Regions from separate parts of the Homo sapiens genome. Here regions 1 and 2 are each linked to region 3. Evidence: promoter capture Hi-C in human tissues and cell types (Jung and others, 2019). All regions are on one chromosome and are shown on one strand. Each heading gives the region's core, a stretch centred on a gene start or on the middle of the fragment in contact. The rest is flanking DNA. Distances are from core to core; before and after follow the strand shown. Region 1 holds the start of ZNF471 (zinc finger protein 471). Region 2 holds the start of ZNF837 (zinc finger protein 837). Region 3 holds the start of ZNF773 (zinc finger protein 773).

What was found. Contacts are between HindIII fragments. The study calls those that stand out against the background at their distance.
Region 1: the fragment with the promoter of ZNF471 here is called in contact with the fragment with the promoter of ZNF773 in region 3 in 1 of the 25 tissues and cell types used here (adrenal gland).
Region 2: the fragment with the promoter of ZNF837 here is called in contact with the fragment with the promoter of ZNF773 in region 3 in 1 of the 25 tissues and cell types used here (spleen).

What each region holds. Positions count from the first base shown.
Region 1 is chr19:56,505,485-56,509,148 of GRCh38, reverse strand. It overlaps ZNF471 (zinc finger protein 471), which reads right to left and starts at 1,294. Exons shown (of 5, transcript NM_020813.4): 1 at 1,229-1,294. The HindIII fragment of the contact is 4,462 bases long and covers 1-2,786 here.
Region 2 is chr19:58,379,727-58,383,648 of GRCh38, reverse strand. ZNF837 (zinc finger protein 837) reads left to right here and starts at 2,619. Exons shown (of 3, transcript NM_138466.2): 1 at 2,619-2,708. RefSeq lists a silencer at 2,358-2,867 and enhancers at 3,218-3,277, 2,812-3,353, 3,308-3,537, 3,354-3,895. The HindIII fragment of the contact is 47,170 bases long and covers 1-3,922 here.
Region 3 is chr19:57,498,483-57,501,866 of GRCh38, reverse strand. It overlaps ZNF773 (zinc finger protein 773), which reads right to left and starts at 1,929. Exons shown (of 4, transcript NM_198542.3): 1 at 1,754-1,929. The coding sequence starts at 1,786. The HindIII fragment of the contact is 9,164 bases long and covers 1-3,384 here.

The DNA.
Region 1 (3,664 bases), core at 45-2,544, 990 kb after region 3:
CTGCCTAGATTGTTCTTGTGACCATCCCTTACCGTGATCAACCTACAGGCTGCCAGCCCACCAATCATTAGCATGCAAAAAGACACTTAATACTTTGGAGATTCCAAGGATCTTAGAAGTCGTAAGCCAGGAAACATAACTTTGTCCTATACTTTGATCGCCTCCCTCTCTCTCACAAACTCATAACAACATAACCTAGTCTCACTCTTTGGACTCTCACAGTTTAGTCTCTTTCTCTCTCTCATACACACACACCAGCCTCTCAAGGAGCCTCACATAATGACTGGTCTTTCACACACAGCCACGTGCTCATCTCTCTCACACTCACTGGTCTCACGCTATGTTGTCTCTCACACACGAACACACCCTGGTCTCACACTCTGGTCTCTCTCAGTCTGTCAGACACACATAACACGGCCTCACACACTGACGGGTCTTTCACCCAAAACACCCATTTCTCACACTCACTGGTCTCCCTTTCACACATTAACATACCACAGTCTCACACTCTGTTCTTGCACAGTCTAGTCTCGCATACATGGTGATTCTTCTCTCTCTCGAACACACACCGGCCTCTCATTGAGCCTCACCCACCGACCGACCGGCCTTTCACACACAGGCACACGCCCATCTCTCACACTCACTGGTCTCTCACACTCCATCCAGCCCGTCTCACTCTCTCACACGAATACATCCTGGTCTCACGCTCTGGACACCTGGTCTGTTACACACTTACACACCCACACACCTCGCAACCTCTCACTGAGCTTCACACGCTCTCTTTCAAATGCAGGCACATCCCTATCTCTCTCACACTCACTGGTCTCTCACACTGGCCCGTCTCGCTCTGTCACACACGAACATACCCTGGTCTCACACTGGACTCTCGGTCTGTCACACACACACACACACACACACAGAAACCACACCCTCTCACGGAGCCTCACACTCTGACAGATCTTTTACACACAGGCACACCCCCATCTCTCCCACAGCTCACTCCAGTGGTCCCGCCGCCCCAAGCCGCCCCGAACGCCCAGCAGCCCCGAGCCGCGGCCTCCGCCCCGCAGACTCGAGTACGCGCGCCCCGCTGGCCTCTGGGAAATGTAGTCGTCCTGGGGACAGAGGACGCGGCTGGGCCTTCGCGACCCGCGTCGGAGCCGCCCGCCTCGCCTGCCCTTCCTGGCCCAGCCCTCGAGCTCGGACTCCCAAACCACCCAAAACAAACCCCCGGCCTCGTCTGGCACCCAGACGCTCTCATCCGAAGGACTCCGTGAGTCGACGCTGGAACCCCCCATCGCGCAGGCGCCAGCCTCTCTCCAGGGGTCGGACGAGAGGGGCGGAGACAAGGCGTGGCCTAGTGTTGAGGGGATTGTCCTCGGGCTGCTGAAGGAGTGAGAGGGACCTTAGAGCAGAGCGGGCGGTGCCTGCGCAGTGCGTGATTACGCGAGCCGGGCGTGGCCCAGGGTTCCGGCGGGTAAGAGCAGGAGTGTGCGCAGGCGCAAAGATTGCGCTCTCCCCCTCTCCTCGCCTAGAGACCAGAAGCGTCCCTAGTTACTAGTTCCTGGGGCCTGGGAGGGAAACGCGCGACGGCTGAGCCTTCGGTGTGAGTACGCGTGGGGCTTTGTGACGCTGTCTGTGCCTCTGTGATCGCGATGTCATTCGGAGCGCGGCCTTCTGTGCCAGTCCGTGGGAGTGTCATTATCTTTCTGTGTTAAGCTTATTTTGGAATAAGACAGCGACGAGGAACCCCGACCGTGTTGTGACTCTGGCGAATTAATACCTCTTTCAGCTGCAAATGGGAATGTCACTGATCAGAGGCAGTGAATAACACGACGTTTTTGGAACCAATCTGCTAGGCTTGAACCGCGTTCAGCCCCTTAACAAAATGGAAATGGTCCCCGTTTTAGGGGACTAGCCCTGACTAGGAGAACTGTAGAATTAGTATTGGAAGGTGAGACAAATAAGGAAAAGCAATTCAGGGGGATACAGCAGAGAAAAAAAAATCCCTGTCCTCTTATTATGTAATTTACTTTGAAGCGGAGAGAGACAAGCCACAAATTCATGAGTTAGATAAACAGTCTGATGAACAGTAAAAAGGGCTATGGAGAAATATAACTCAGAGAAGGTTGTATCGTATACATTTTTTCTATTGTCTCTTATAATGTCTTAACATGTCAAAAAAACCTGTCTGCAGCAGACACCAGCCAGGTGACCGCTACTCCAATTCAATTCTGACGCTACCTGGAAAACATCAGATCCTACAGGTTAGACAGCTCAGTCCCAAAAGACTGTCCCCCACTTCCCATGCCAATTCCAAACTCCAGATTGTTGTACCTGTGTTTCAGAGAGATGTGCTATAAATTGGGGCTCCCACAGCCGGCTCCTTGGGTTCCATTAGTTTGCTAGAGCAGCTCACAGAACTCAAGGAAACACTTATGTTTACTGGTTTATTATAAAAGATATTTTAAAGGATACAAATAGCCAGATGAAGAGACATGTAGGGCAAGGTCCGAGAGAATCCCTAGTGCAGGAACTTCTGTGCCCGTGGAGTTGGGGTGCACCACCCTCCCAGCACGAGGATGTGTTTTTGTCTACCTTCTTGGAAGCCGCTTGAACTCAGGCCTTTTCGGTTTTCAAGGTTTCATTATGTAGATGTGATTGATTAAATCATTGGCCACTGGCGATCAACTTAATTTTCAGGCTCTCTCTTTTCCCAGAAGTAGAGGGTGGAGCTGTGAGTTCCAGTCCTCTGAGCACATGGCTGGTTCCTCTGGCAACTAGCCACCACTCCCCCCAAATATTGGGATTATCTTGAGAGTTTCCAAAAATCACCTCATTAACATAAACTCATGTGTGGTTGAAATACTGTCTTTCACCTTTATGGCTCTGGAGCTGTTCTGGAGCTTTTTCAGGAACCAGGAACAAAAGGCCAGATATTTTAACAAAAGATACTTTATTGCTGCAGTCATTTAGGAAATTAAAAGAGCTGTAGGAACTGAGAGCCATGAACTGTACCTTTCTTTCTAACTCCACATTCAGTGATGTCATATTGGTAGATTGAAATCCACCACAAGGGGACTATTTACAGTATGGAAATACAGTCTACATCGCTAAAGGATGGAGATACATTCTGAGAAATGGGTTCTTAGGCAATTTCCTAAGAACCTTGTTGTGCAAACATCATAGAGTGTACTTACACAAACCTAGATTGTGTAGCCTACTACACACCCACACTCACTCAGACTGGGACAACTTAGACATACCAGTTAACTTACTGTGCACATCTTTGGGATGTGGGAGGAATCTGGAGTACCCAGAGAAAACCCATGGAGACATGGTGAGACTAGTCAGATTGCATTAGGACCCACCCTAACGACCTCATTTCAACTTAATTAACTCTGTAAAAATCCTATATCCAAATACAGTCACATTCTGAGGTACTGGGAGTTAGGACTTCAACATGCAAAATTTGGGGCAGACAAAATTCAACCAATAACAAGAGATTATTTTGATTCTTCTGTCCTCATTCATCCCACCAAGGAAGTAAGGGGTATTTCCATTATCATACTATATATTAAATTATCATTACATTACATATATAATGTTTTCTTTATCTAATTTTTACTTTATATATACCACATTTTTGTTCATGGGCCATCAA
Region 2 (3,922 bases), core at 1,370-3,869, 880 kb before region 3:
GAACTGCCAACTTCCATTTCTCCTCTGTTCTTCCAGATCCTACAACCAGGATTCTGTGTTGGGGGCCAAGATGCCCTGCTGAAGCCTCTATTCCCTGAGGCTGCTTCGCAGTAAGCTACCCCAGGCCCTCAGGAGAGGTGTGAAATGGAGCAGAGGCCCTTTGCTGAAGACAGCATAGAGCCAGAGGGGGACCTCTGCGGAGGGATGGCCGGTAGCAGGACAACTCTCCTGGGTGCAGGGTCCCAGGCCTACAGACATAGAATGAGCCCCAGACTGGGGACCTGTGGGATTGGTAAAGTTGGACCCCTTGGGTGGGAGCCCCACTGGAGCTTCCTCTCCAGGTCCTTGCCTGATTCAGTCTCATTCCTGAAATCGCTCCTGTGTAACCATTGTCACAAGATGCTTCTCTGGTGCTGCCCCTGCATGAACCCTGCAGGGTCCACTTAGACAACAGGCTTGTGTAGAAGTGAAGAAAGCCTACAGACTGTCACAGCCCCCATAGCCGGTCCCCTCCAGACAAGTCCCCCGCACCTGTGCCTGCCAAGTGGTTAGGCCTTTCATTGGTGCTTCAAACTCCACTCCAGGGCTGCCAGTCACCCCATGCCAGCCCTGCAGGGACAAGGCCTTTGTGTGGTGGCCAGGCCTGTGGTACCACCAGAATCTTCACTCCAGAGGGAGGCCCTTTCTGTGCCTGGGAGTGGGAAGTTCTTCCACATAGGCTCAAGACTCCTCCAGTAGCAGTGCATCCACAGGTGTGAGAAATCCTACTTGTGTCAGGCCGGGTGCAGTGGCTCATGCCTGAATCCCAGCACTTTGTGAGGCCGAGGCGGGTGGATCATGAGGTCAGGAATTCAAGACCAGCCTGGCCAAGATGGTGAAACCCCATCTCTACTAAAAATACAAAAATTAGCCGGGCGAGGTCGTGGGCACCTATAATCCCAGCTACTCGGGAGGCTGAGGCAGAGAACTGCTTGAACCTGGGAGGCGGAAGTTGCAGTGAGCTGAGATCGCGGCCACTGCACTCCAGCCTGGGCAACAGAGCAAGACTGTCTCAAAAAAGAAAAAAAAAAAGAAATCCCACTTGTGTCCCAATTGGGGCCAGTGGCTGAACCTGTCAGACATCTGCACACCCACACAGAGCCAGCAGCTGCACTCCTTTCTCTGTGACAATTGTCAAGGCCTTCCTGTGCAACTCTCTTCAGCCACCAAGGGACCCACAAGGCGGGCAGCCCTCCAAGTGCCCTTCAGCCTCCTGCTCGCCCTCAATTAGCTTGGTAAGCCCTGAGTTTTGTACTTGGGCAGGGAGATAGACCTCCTGACAAGGCTTTCGATGTGCAGACACCCAAAGGATGGAGAAAGGGAGTGGAACAGTCCCAGCATCCCTGAAGCAGATGCAGTGGAGGCAGAAAGGTGGGGCAAACTGGGTCGTTACATGCAATATATGTGCTGGACTGGCCAACAAAATTAGATGTCCCTATTGAGGGCAGGAGCCACACAATAGATGGGGGCAAGAGCTGGGGGTTACAAATGGGTAGGAGGCGTGACCAGTTCATCCTACCTGGGAGGGCCCGTAGAGTCAGCAACACCCAAAGGGGCTGGGGAGGCTGTGGTTCCCCAATGGGGCCGCACGTGTTAGAATCAACTAGGAGCCGGACTAGGGGCCTGGCGCAGTGGCTCAAGCCTGTACTCCCAGCACTCTGGAAGGCTGAGACACGAGGATCGCTTGAGCCCAGGAGTTCCAGACCAGTCTGGGCAACATATGGAGACCCTATCTCTAAAATAAATAAATAAATAAAAATAAAAAAACTATCCAGGCATGGTGGCTCCCACCTATAGTCCCAGCTATTCGGGAGGGTGAGGTGGGAGGGTCGCTTCAGTACAGGAGTTCGAGACCAGCCTGGGCGACATAGTGGGAGGAGGAAGGGAGGGGGAGAAGGAGGGGGAGGGAGAGAAGAAAGAAAATTAGCCGGGCGTGGTGGCGCGCGCCCCTGTTAACAGCTACTCTGGAGGCTGAAGTAGGAGGATCGCTTGAGCTCAGGAGGTCGAGGCTGCAGTGAACCGTGATGGTGTCACTGCATTAGCCTGGGCGACAGAGCGAGACCCCGTCTCAAAAAAGCAAACCAAAAAAAATACAAAAAAATAGACTTAACTGAGGAGTTTTGACGCGCATATGCTCGGGCCCAGTCCCAGATTCTGATGTTATCGGTCTGACTCGCAACGCGCTCACCAAGACACTTCAGAGCTCCCCAGGTGCTTCCCAGCCCAACTCTCCCACCCGAGGGGAGCCTGCGAACCGCAAGTCGGTTCCGGGTTGGGACCTCTTAGAAATCAGATTGGGAGAGGAGGCTATCAATCATAATCATGACCAGTCACCCGCTTTCACGAGAAGGAATGGGCGGGACCCTACGTCCCCGTCCAGAACGCCGTTTCTTTGGCGACGACTTAGGTCCACGCCCCGCCTTTTAGGTGTAGCCGGCCTCTGTTTCTATGATAACCGAAGCCCAAGCCTCTCCCTACACCGCTTTCTCCGCAGCGTCAAAGCGGGACATGACGGGACTACGTTTCCCAGCAGTCCCCGCGCGGGTTCCCGCCTGCGCTTGCTGTGGCCCGGGTCCCTCAGTGCCGCGGCGGCCCGGAGGTGGCGGGAGGACGGCTCCGCGCTGCATGCGGGGCGGGGACCAGGGACCCGTGCGGGCCGCCTCCAGAGAGTAAGTGGCATTCTGCGCGGACCCGCAACCTCGGCCTGCGAGGCGGGGACCTCCCGGCGCATAGCGCGGCCACCACCCCAGTCCCCTCTCCACCTCCGCGCGCGGGGTCCGGGGCAGAGGCGTGACGCCGCGCACTTCCGGTCCTCGCGCTCCGGGTCCGGACCGGCCACACAGCACTCGCGACCTTGAGTTCCGGGCGGGACGGGCTTCTGTAGTTCTGGCCCCCGCGTTTCCGTGCTGGGTGTCATTGAAGCCCGCGAGGGGAGGCTCCAGGCCCGGGACCCATCCTGGCGGCCTGCGGCTCTCGGAGTCAAGCCCACCTGCTAGCCGAGGCCGACGCCGGCCTCCCTACCGTCTCTGCCCCCGCATCCTGGCCTTTGCACTTTGCTCTTTCCTTGTCTGCAGACCGGTTTCATGCCCCCTCTTCACAGAGGCCCGAAGAATCCGCTGCCTCCCTCCCTGGCGCCCTCGCGCTGCTCCCTGTCTGATGTTCTTCACGTCTTTTTCTCTCTTAAACGGTCTCTTGTTCATTTCTTCTTGTCTGCGGTCCCCTCCTTCACTCACTATTAGAGCAGGATGCAGCACCGTTTGGCCCTGACACAGTGGATGTCCTGCGAGGGTTGAAGCTTGCTAATCCTTGAGGGTGGAGGCACTGTCGGGAGGACAGACACAGAAGGGAGCTGTGCCTGCACTCAGAGGACATTTCTTCTGCTGTACAGTGCATGATGCACTGTTCTTCCCATTGCGTGCACAGTGTAGAATTGGACATAGGGGCTAGAGTCTGTGTCCCCTGGGACTGTCAGTGTGGGTGAGGTTGGTCTGTGGCTCAGAGAGGTGGAGCCACGCTGAGCTGGGCACTAGCCTGTGTCCTCCACACCTCAGAGCCACCAACGTTGACTTCCCTGCACATTCTGTTTTTGTTGTTGTTGTTGTTGTTGTTGTTTTGAGACGGAGTTTCGCTCTTGTTGCCCAGGCTGGAGTGCAGTGGCGCGATCTCGGCTCACTGCAACCTCCGCCTCCCGGGTTCAAGCGATTCTCCAGCCTCAGCCTCCCGAGTAGCTGGGATTACAGGCATGCACCACCGTGCCTGGCGACTTCCCTGCACATTCTCTTGGGCAAATAAGACCTCATTGTGCCGTGTGCAACCTCCATGAGGATGTTGAACCTCACTAGCTTTCCTGTGTGTGCTGTTGCTCTGCAGTTCTGCAGGGCTC
Region 3 (3,384 bases), core at 680-3,179:
AATAGCCAGCAAGGAGTCCCAAGACACCATAATTCTGAAGACCATGTAGGTAGGAGTTGAGGAGGGTGAGGGCCTGAGACATCCTCCACTTACCTTCTCATGGTCTATAACTAACTCTGAAGTCACAAGAACCTATGGAAAATCAAGACCATGAGAACCAGACAGTGATGTTACCAAAGGATCATCCAAGCCCCCTCGTCTAGCCTGGAGTCAGGTGTGCCTGACTATCTGCAATCTGGGCTTTGGTTCTTAGTGATGCCTCTTACCTGTTGTGTGCCCTTGGAAAAATGCTCAACTTCCCTGTGCCTTGGTATTGCCATCTGCAACATGGCAATAATGGTATTCACTCAATAGGACTATTGTTTGTATCAAACTCATTCTTATGTGTCTAGGACTAAATATCAACTCTTACTGTACACATAATTAATGCTTCTGTCAACATTTTCAGTGCAAATAAACTGGTAGGTTTTCAAAATGTGGGTTTCTGCCTGGGTGCAGTGGCTCAAGCCTGTAATCCCAACACTTTGGGAGGCCGAGGTGGGCAGATCACAAGAGCAGAATTCTGTCTCAAAAAAAAAAAAAAAAGAAAGAAAAAGAAAGACAATGTGGGTTTCCTTTTGGCAATCTGGCTGCCTGCTATATACTCCCCTGAAGACCATCCTGCTGAGAGCCCTCCCTTCTACTGGAGCAGTTGATCATCCCACCTGTGCTGATAGCTAGGGAAACTTAGGCACCAAAGGTGCTGCTCCACCAGCCTGGCTGACCTTTCCTTTTCTCCATATGGACTGGACATGAGGAACTACTAAGCCTGGAGTGGCAAACCTATATACTACCCAACACTGCGGTCTCCATCCAGTCCTGGGTGTTCATACTCTATAACCCTCCATTCCTGCAGGCACCAGACAAAATCACTTCGGACCACGAAACTCCAGGCTGTAGAGGCTGCCCCATCCTACAGGCCCATCTCTCCCTTCCCTCACCTCAGGGACCATCTGAAAGAAAACTTTAAGATTCTCCCTCCTAAATACGAGCCCCAGGCCTTCCAGCTGCTCATGTGGACATGACACCTCCACTCTGGGACATCTCAGGATCACCATGCCCAAAACCTATTCCCTGCACAGCCTTACCCATCTCCATCCTTCCTGATATTCAGGAACAAACAAAAATACAAATAAAAATCCAGAATGGCTCTTCATTCCCTACTTTCTTTCACAGTCACATCTGATGCAACAGGAATTCCCGTCTGTTCAGTTTTTGAAATCCATCCAAGATCTGATCACTTCCCCTCCTCTGTGGCCCAGTCCCAGTAGACTCTCCACTAGTCTACTGAATTTACCTACTCACAGGTCTGTCTTCACCCGCCTCACCCCCACCCCAGTCTGTTTTGACTTGAAGGGCCTTTGGCAAACTTTGAGAAACAGATCTTGTCACTCTTCTGTCTCCAGCCCTCCGCGGCCACTGTGGCCCCCTCAGGATGAAAGCGCAGCTGCTCGGGCTGTCGCTCGACACGCGCCTCGTCCCTTCCCAAGCTGCCCACTACAGACACCAGGAGGCCTCAGGTTCGGGACTCGCTGAATGCGCCTCACATCTTTGCGAGCCGGGCCCCTTGCCCTCCATTGCCACCCCATCACACTGCGTGTCAGAAACGGGACGCCGCCCACGAACGCCCCACAGTTCTGCACCCGGGGACCTGAGCAGGCGGCCCTCACAGGGCTTTAGGATTCGGGGGAGGCCGGGAGGACGCGGCGCTCACCTGAGCGGGGTCCCTCAGCGTGGCCGCCGCCATCGGAGCCTGTGGCGGTGAGACAACGACCGAGGAAAGGGCCCGGGCCACCCTGGGCGCCGCCACCGAGCCTCAGACCCGCCTCTGAGCTGCGAGAACACAGCGCGTCCCCACCGCGCTTTCCGGAGCTGGTCGCCGCAGCGAACAACCAGCTTCCGGCAAGCTGAGTTCTCTTGAGGGCAGCGAAAGCAACCGCCGAGGGGAGACGCCGGAAGTCCCGCCCATTGCGCGTCGCACTCTCGGGTAGACCTCTTTTCATTGGCCAAGCATCGCGGCTCACGGCGCGGCGCCTTCTGGGCAGTGTAGTTCGCGTGGCTCCAAACTTCGAGGAAGTGGGCATAACTTCGGAGATGGAGATTGGAGACGGTAGATGATGGAGATGGAGATGGAGATGGAGATGATGGAGATGATGGAGATGGAGATGATGGAGATAGAGATGATGATGGAGATGGAGATGATGGAAATGGAGATGATGAAGATGGAGATGATGGAGAAGATGGAGATGATGGAGAAGATGGAGATGATGGAGAAGATGGAGATGGAGATGATGGAGTAGGAGATGGAGATGGAGATGATGGAGATGATGGAGATGGAGATGATGGAGATAGAGATGATGATGGAGATAGAGATGATGATGGAGATGGAGATGATGGAGATGGAGATGATGGAGATAGAGATGATGATGGACATGGAGATGATGGAGATGGAGATGATGATGAAGATGGAGATGATGGAGAAGATGGAGATGGAGATGATGGAGTAGGAGATGGAGGAGAAATGAGTGTCGAGAACTCTCGGACTCATCTGGAACCTGTTGTAATTGGAGATGGGCCTGGATTTCAGTTTCCTGCAGCTGATACTCCAATCTTTCCTTCTTTTGAAGGACTTGAAGAGGATCTTCAGGGCCACCATAAAGAGGTTTCACTGGGCAAAGCCACGTATACCTTCCTAAATTTCCTTTGGCAAGGGGACACCCAATATTAATGCCTGATGTATGATAATAAGAAAAGGCTCTGAATTCTGGATGTAGGTGATGAGAGAGTAGGGGAGCCCAAGGATTTACGTTCCTCTTTCACCCCATTCTCATTTGTGTTCTTTCCTTCCTCAAGGACCCAACATTGGTGTAAAGGCACAACAACAGGCAGCAAACCCATAAGCCAACTCCCCCTCAATTTCTCCCCTTCATCCATTTCTGCTCCATATTCCTGTCACAGTTACTATGGGACTGAACGAAGGGGAACGAATGCAGAAATGAAAACAAAGGCAAAATAAATCTGTTTTAAAGAAGGGGTCAGGGGGCTTCTTGCTTCTAGTGAGGAAGGGCCCTGAGCTTCCACAGACCTTCATATTTATTGGGTAGAAAGAGTAGGGAGGTGGTGGCTTACGCCTGTAATCCCAGCACTTTGGGAGGCCAAGGCGGGTGGATCACAAGGTCAGGAGATCGAGACTATCCTGGCTAACACGGTGAAACCCCGTCTGTACTAAAAAATACAAAAAATTAGCCGGGTGTGGTAGCAGGTGCCTGTAGTCCCAGCTACTCGGGAGGCTGAGACGGGAGAATGGCATGAACCCGGGAGGTGGAGCTTGCAGTGAGTGGAGTT